Linked DNA regions of Homo sapiens: region 2 is linked to region 1. Evidence: promoter capture Hi-C in human tissues and cell types (Jung and others, 2019). All regions are on one chromosome and are shown on one strand. The core of a region is centred on a gene start or on the middle of the fragment in contact, and the rest is flanking DNA. Distances in the headings are between cores, read along the strand shown. Region 1 holds the start of DAG1 (dystroglycan 1). Region 2 overlaps RBM5 (RNA binding motif protein 5).

The links. Contacts are between HindIII fragments. The study calls those that stand out against the background at their distance.
Region 2: a fragment that was not itself captured here is called in contact with the fragment with the promoter of DAG1 in region 1 in 2 of the 25 tissues and cell types used here (liver and stomach).

Annotation. Positions count from the first base shown.
Region 1 is chr3:49,469,017-49,471,810 of GRCh38, forward strand. It overlaps DAG1 (dystroglycan 1), which reads left to right and starts at 1,251. Exons shown (of 3, transcript NM_004393.6): 1 at 1,251-1,417. RefSeq lists a silencer at 930-1,669. The HindIII fragment of the contact is 22,031 bases long and covers 1-2,274 here.
Region 2 is chr3:50,101,380-50,104,079 of GRCh38, forward strand. It overlaps RBM5 (RNA binding motif protein 5), which reads left to right. Exons shown (of 25, transcript NM_005778.4): 7 at 1,704-1,787. Among named protein-coding and RNA genes, the nearest start is that of RBM5-AS1, 1.7 kb to the left of the region's middle. The HindIII fragment of the contact is 9,297 bases long and covers 1-2,700 here.

The sequences.
Region 1 (2,794 bases), core at 1-2,500:
TTGGAGCCGAGACACTGAAGTATAGATAATTGCAAAAAGGTATGTTTTTGGGAGATGGGGCATTCCTTTCTTATCTCTGCAACTTGCATCTCCCAGACGCTCCTGAGGAGGGAGGGAAAGCCAGGGAGCCCCAGAGCTCTCCGGGATCCAGGGAGGAAACCATGGCTGGTGGCAGCCAGTTCTGTGTTCAGAATGTGCTTGCTGTCAAGAGTGCAGGCCTGGAATTCCAGCCTGGCCACAGGCCAAGGAGGGAATGGACCCATCCTGCGCATGGTGTGGGGATGAGAAGCAGAGCCCACCACGGGTCTCATTCCCAGACCCATCCGGTAACTGTCAGTTTCAGTAACTGTGAAGTCTGGGGCTTTTGGGGTGGGGGGCTGCAGGTTAAGTCCTGGGGAGAGCTAGAGCTACCTTAGGACCCTCCCCTTGAATGTTCCAGGCAGCAACCCCCCTCTCTTATTTCTTCCCCCACCAAAAGAATGCAGGCCACTAGGAGTGAGTGACCAGCGCCTGCGAGTTAGAGCTATTTTGGGCAGGAGAGCAGGCGTCGGATTCCAGTGTTCCAGGCAGGGGGAGGGGACGAGGGTTAGGCCTGAGGCGCTTTCCGACTCCCCAGCCTGCTGTGGGCGAGGCTCTAGGAGATGAGCTAGCTTCCCGCTCCTCCTGTCCCTGGCCTCAGTCTCCCATCCGTGTAAGGGCCGGGCAGCAAGGCTTTCATCCTTTGCAATTGAGAGAACGCTTCCTGATTGTTCTCATGGCTTAGAAATACCCCTTGATTTGCATTCGAAGGAAATAAGGAGGGCTGAACGCAGTCGACGGGTGGCCAGTTGCTGGGCCAGTTCGCAGTCCTGACTGTCCCTTGATTAGTCTTAGAGGCCCAAAGGCCTGAAGTTGGGCGGGGAGCCCCTCCCCCACACTACTGGTTCTGAAGGCTCCGAGTGACCGGGACCGACCGCCGGGGTGTGTCCCGGGACGGACTTCCCTGGCCGTGGGGGCGAGGCTTCCATAATGGGGCGTGACTTTTAGGGCGGGGGAGTGGCTAGCCAATGAGCAGAGAGGTGCTGGCCGGGGCGGGGCTTGCGCGCGGGTGCGGCGCGCTGCGGAGCGGCCGACGCAGGCAGAAGCCGGCGGCGCGCGGACAGCCAGTCGGCGCCGCGCGGAGCTGGCCGCTGGATTGGCTGCAACACTCGCGTGTCAGGCGGTTGCTAGGCTCCGGCCGCGCGCCCCGCCCTTGCGCTCAGCGCCCTCTCACCGCCCGGTACGTGCTCGCGCGAAGGCTGCGGCGCGGCGCTCGCGCCTCTTAGGCTTGGCGGTGGCGGCGGCGGCAGCTTCGCGCCGAATCCCCGGGGAGCGGCGGTGGCGGCGTCCTGGGGCCAGGAGGAGCGAACACCTGCCGCGGTCCTCCCGCCGGCGCTGGGTGAGTGCACCGCCCGCCCTATCCGCTGTGCCTGGCTGCTTGGGCCCCCATCCCTGCTGCCGGCTGAGCCTTCCGCGGAACACCTGCTGCTGCTCGCTGTTCGGCCCGGGGCGGGGACACGGCCGCGGACGTCCTTGTGGGTGAGGAGGCGGTGCCGCCCGGGCGGAGCCGCCCCTTTGCTCTGGGTCCCGCAGGCAAAGGCTCGGAGCGTTCGGCTGCAAGGCCCGGGCCGCGCGCCGCGGCGATGGGCCAGGCCTTAGCTCGGCCCGCGCTCCCGGGAACGTGGAGCCTGCGCCTTGGCCGCGGTCGTGAGCCGCCTGCGGGCCGCCTCCCTGGCTTCCAATAGGGGTTGTGGCCCAGTTGGGCCGGATTCCGACTGTGGGGAGTCGAGCCCCGCTAGAGGCAGGGAAGGGCACCGCTGCCGCCACTGCTCTGTCAGAGCTGCTCAGAGCCTTGGTGGGTTCCGTCATCCTTACTTGAGCTCCTTTGGAAGCTTGTTTACTTACTACCTTTTCACTTTGTATTTGGCAGACCTGGTTCACCTGCGAGTGTATTTGGATAGTGTCTCCACAGAAAATGTCGTCTCGGCTTGGAATCTTTTTGCCATAAATTCTAAGTTAGTTTCCTACAAACTCAACTGGTAACTTAAAATGCATCCTTTAATCTCTATAACTTGAAAAGTTCTTATTTTTGTAAATCGAGTTGCTTCAGAATTAGTTTTAATGGTGACGATGAAGTTTTGACTGGTTGAGGCAAGAGCCTGGGACAGCACCTTCATAGCGCAGAGTCTAACTTAAGATTCTAGCCTGCTGCTTCCCTAAATAAGCGAGTAGAAGTGACTCCTGGCATAGAAGCCAGACTCCGTGAAGGGAAGGTGGTGTTTATAGGACATAATTCCAGATAAAGAGCTGGATGTGCTTTCAGGTGTTTTGCAAAGTCTGGTGTAGATGGGGTATTGCAGTTTTATCAGGTTCTATGCTTAGTTAAGTTCAGAGACATTATTTTGGAATGTTCCTGTTCTAAAAAAGAATTCAACCGTACTACATTTTGGAGGCATAAAAATCCATAGTTTGAGTATGGAGAAGTTTAGTTGAACTTTTGTGGGTTTTTTTTGCTGTGAACTAAGGAAGAAGAGCTCATGGCCTGTGTCCTGTATTTTGGAGAAATCAGATTTCAGTAGGGAGTTGGATCCATCATGTGAAGACCCTATGGGATATAAAAGCTTGTGCTGACATGTGCTTTTGTTAAAAGAGGCACAGTGCAAATCCTCACTGTTCTTAAAAATTGATTTTGCAAAATGCATTTATTCATTTGAACAAATATTTTGATTCACTACCTGCCAAATTCTGTGGTAGATCCTAGGGACCCATGTAAAAG
Region 2 (2,700 bases), core at 65-2,564, 630 kb after region 1:
CTTTTCTGCAGCATTCTGTGATTTGAGTCATCCATGAATCCATGAATAAAAGTTACATTCTTTGATTGGTAATATTGCCATTTATAACAAGACTCACTAATGAGGGTATCACTTTGACTGACTGATTTGTTAAAGTTTTTAAGCCTCTCATTTTCCTAACCCAGAAATCACAGCCTGATTTTATTAAAAGTAGAGCTTCATTCATTTCATACCATAGATACCATCCTAGTAAATCCAGAACATATACAAGGTTCATGTGAGTCTGCTTTCTTGACATGATAGCATTGTTTGATGCAGTGGATATGTCAGAATGACTAACCTAGGAGTTTAAAACTCCTAAGAAACTAAAACCTGTAAGACATTTAAAAGTCTCCACAATTTTAATGTATACAAAGCTATGTTACTGTGTAACACATTACAGTTCAAATTCACTCCAGAAATAAAAGGCCAGTAGGATTAGGGACTCACTGGTAGTTTGGAGTCTCCCAGCACACATCCCTCCTAGTGGGATGATCTATTCACATATCTCCCAGCTTTTTTATTTTTGCTTCTGTATATCACAGTGAGTGGATGGCCCTTCAGCTTTTTCTCTCCTGGCCAGACATGCAGTCTTGCCTTTAGATATCGCAGAGACAAAATTCACAGCATGTCTTAAATCTTCCAGGATTTGCAAGAACCAAATTGCTCAACAGTATGTATGTTTAGAGGGGTTAGACTCCTTTTTAAAATCTGGATATCTAACCACCTACTTAAATCTGTTTGATAGTGTCAAACCACCCCCACCCTTGATCCTCCCACCCCCAAGAAAAAGAAAAGATGCTCCTGTTAAATGAAGGCTCTTTAGGGGTAGGTGCTAGGTATACTCTTGGCTAGATTGATTCAGCTCAGAATTTTGACTTTTTAAAGCTAAGTCCTTGTAGTCACATGGTTGACTTGAAGGATGAGGTGGTGTGTGCATTTATGAGCTTTTCCTACCCCCCTGAAGAAACTTCATTGGCCTCCTGGTTACTCACCTTGAAGAGAGTACCATCCATTTTAGTGAAAAACACATCTGTCACCTAGGACATGACATGGTTGCAGTTGACAGGAAAAAAAAAATCTCATTTAGTTGTTTTAGAGTTGGTGGCATTCAGAATAGTCCCTCTTGAGAAAGAATTGTAACCAGATTCCCTTTAAAAATGAGTTCCCCTCCCTTTCCCCCCAAAGGACTCATCCTGAAGCAGAAGGTGTGGGGGGAAGGAGAAATGTAAAGGCTTTTACTTTGCATAAGGATGGGGGACTGGGGAAAAAGGTGAAGCGAAGCCCAAGGACACCATGCTAAGGGCAAAAGTAAGAGACAGTCTCAGAACTGAGAGAATTGTGTCTTCTGCTTTTTGAAGTAGACTGTCACACTCAGGCAGCCTGTCAATGCTGAATGTTAGGACTTCTGTCTCCGCTGGAGACACGGCCTGGTGCAAGTCAGCGTTTAGTGTTTGACAGCTTTCTCAGCACTCCCTGACTCCGTTTACCTTTACTCCGCATCCCATTCTCTTACTGCCTATCTGAAGGATTGGATGGGCAGAGTATAGGTGGCGGTGGTTGGTCCTCCCCGTATGTTGTCCATTTAATTCCAGAGCACTGATTTTTCCGAAGTGTGCTCTGCCCTGGGAAAATGGACACATGTTCCTCACAATGGGAATAACTAATTACTTCTTTTCTTACAGAAAAAGTTGGTGATTCAAGGAAAGCACATTGCAATGCATTATAGCAATCCCAGACCTAAGTTTGAAGATTGGCTTTGTAACAAGGTAAGCATATGTTCTTCCCAAATAGACAAAACTCCTTTAGGATATTGCTGTTTTTTTCTGTTTGTTTATTTGACTGTCCAAACAAGGAAATTGTTACTCAATCATCAGTAATATTCATGGTTTGTTACTTTCCTTGGGTCCTCCTACACTGGTATTAGATGATAGAACTAGAGGTTTCGTTTATTAAGATGCACGTTCTGCTGGGCATGGTGGCTCACGCCTGTAATCCCAGCACTTTGGGAGGCCAAGGCGGGTAGATAGCTTGAGGCCAGGGGTTAGAGACCAGCCTGGCCAACATGGCAAAACCCCGTCTCTACTAAAAATACAAAAATTAGCTGGGCATCACGGTGCGCGCCTGTAATCCCAGCTACTCGGAGGTTGAGGCAGGAAAATCTCTTGAACACGGGAGGCAGAGGTTGCAATGAGCCAAGATCGCGCCACTGCACTCTAGCCTGGGTGACAGAGTGAGACTCTGTCTCAAAAAACAAAAAAGGACAACAAAAAGGATGCAGGTTCTAAGCCCAGTGATTAAGATTTTAGGTGTGTTTCATGTTACTGTTTATTGAATTCTAGAGCTCTCAGTTTTTGGCGTAGTCTCTTAACTGTATTAACCAAAATAGTTGAGAACCCTGCTAAAGTTATATAAGGTTTACCATTTTGAACTTGAATGTTGACATTGATATTTTGAGAGTGCTCAAACTGTGTCCCCTGTCCAGTAGGGGACTAGACAGTGGTTAGTTTACCTTGTGTTTGTGTATGTAGGATGGGATGTATAGTGCTCTGTTGATACAAGGAAGAGCTTCACCAGTGGCTTGCTGTAGAGTTTTCAAATTAACTGAACCCTTTCCTCGGCTTGATAATAATGGGATTCTTCTTCAACATACAACAAACTTTGTTTTTCTTGGGAGATTTT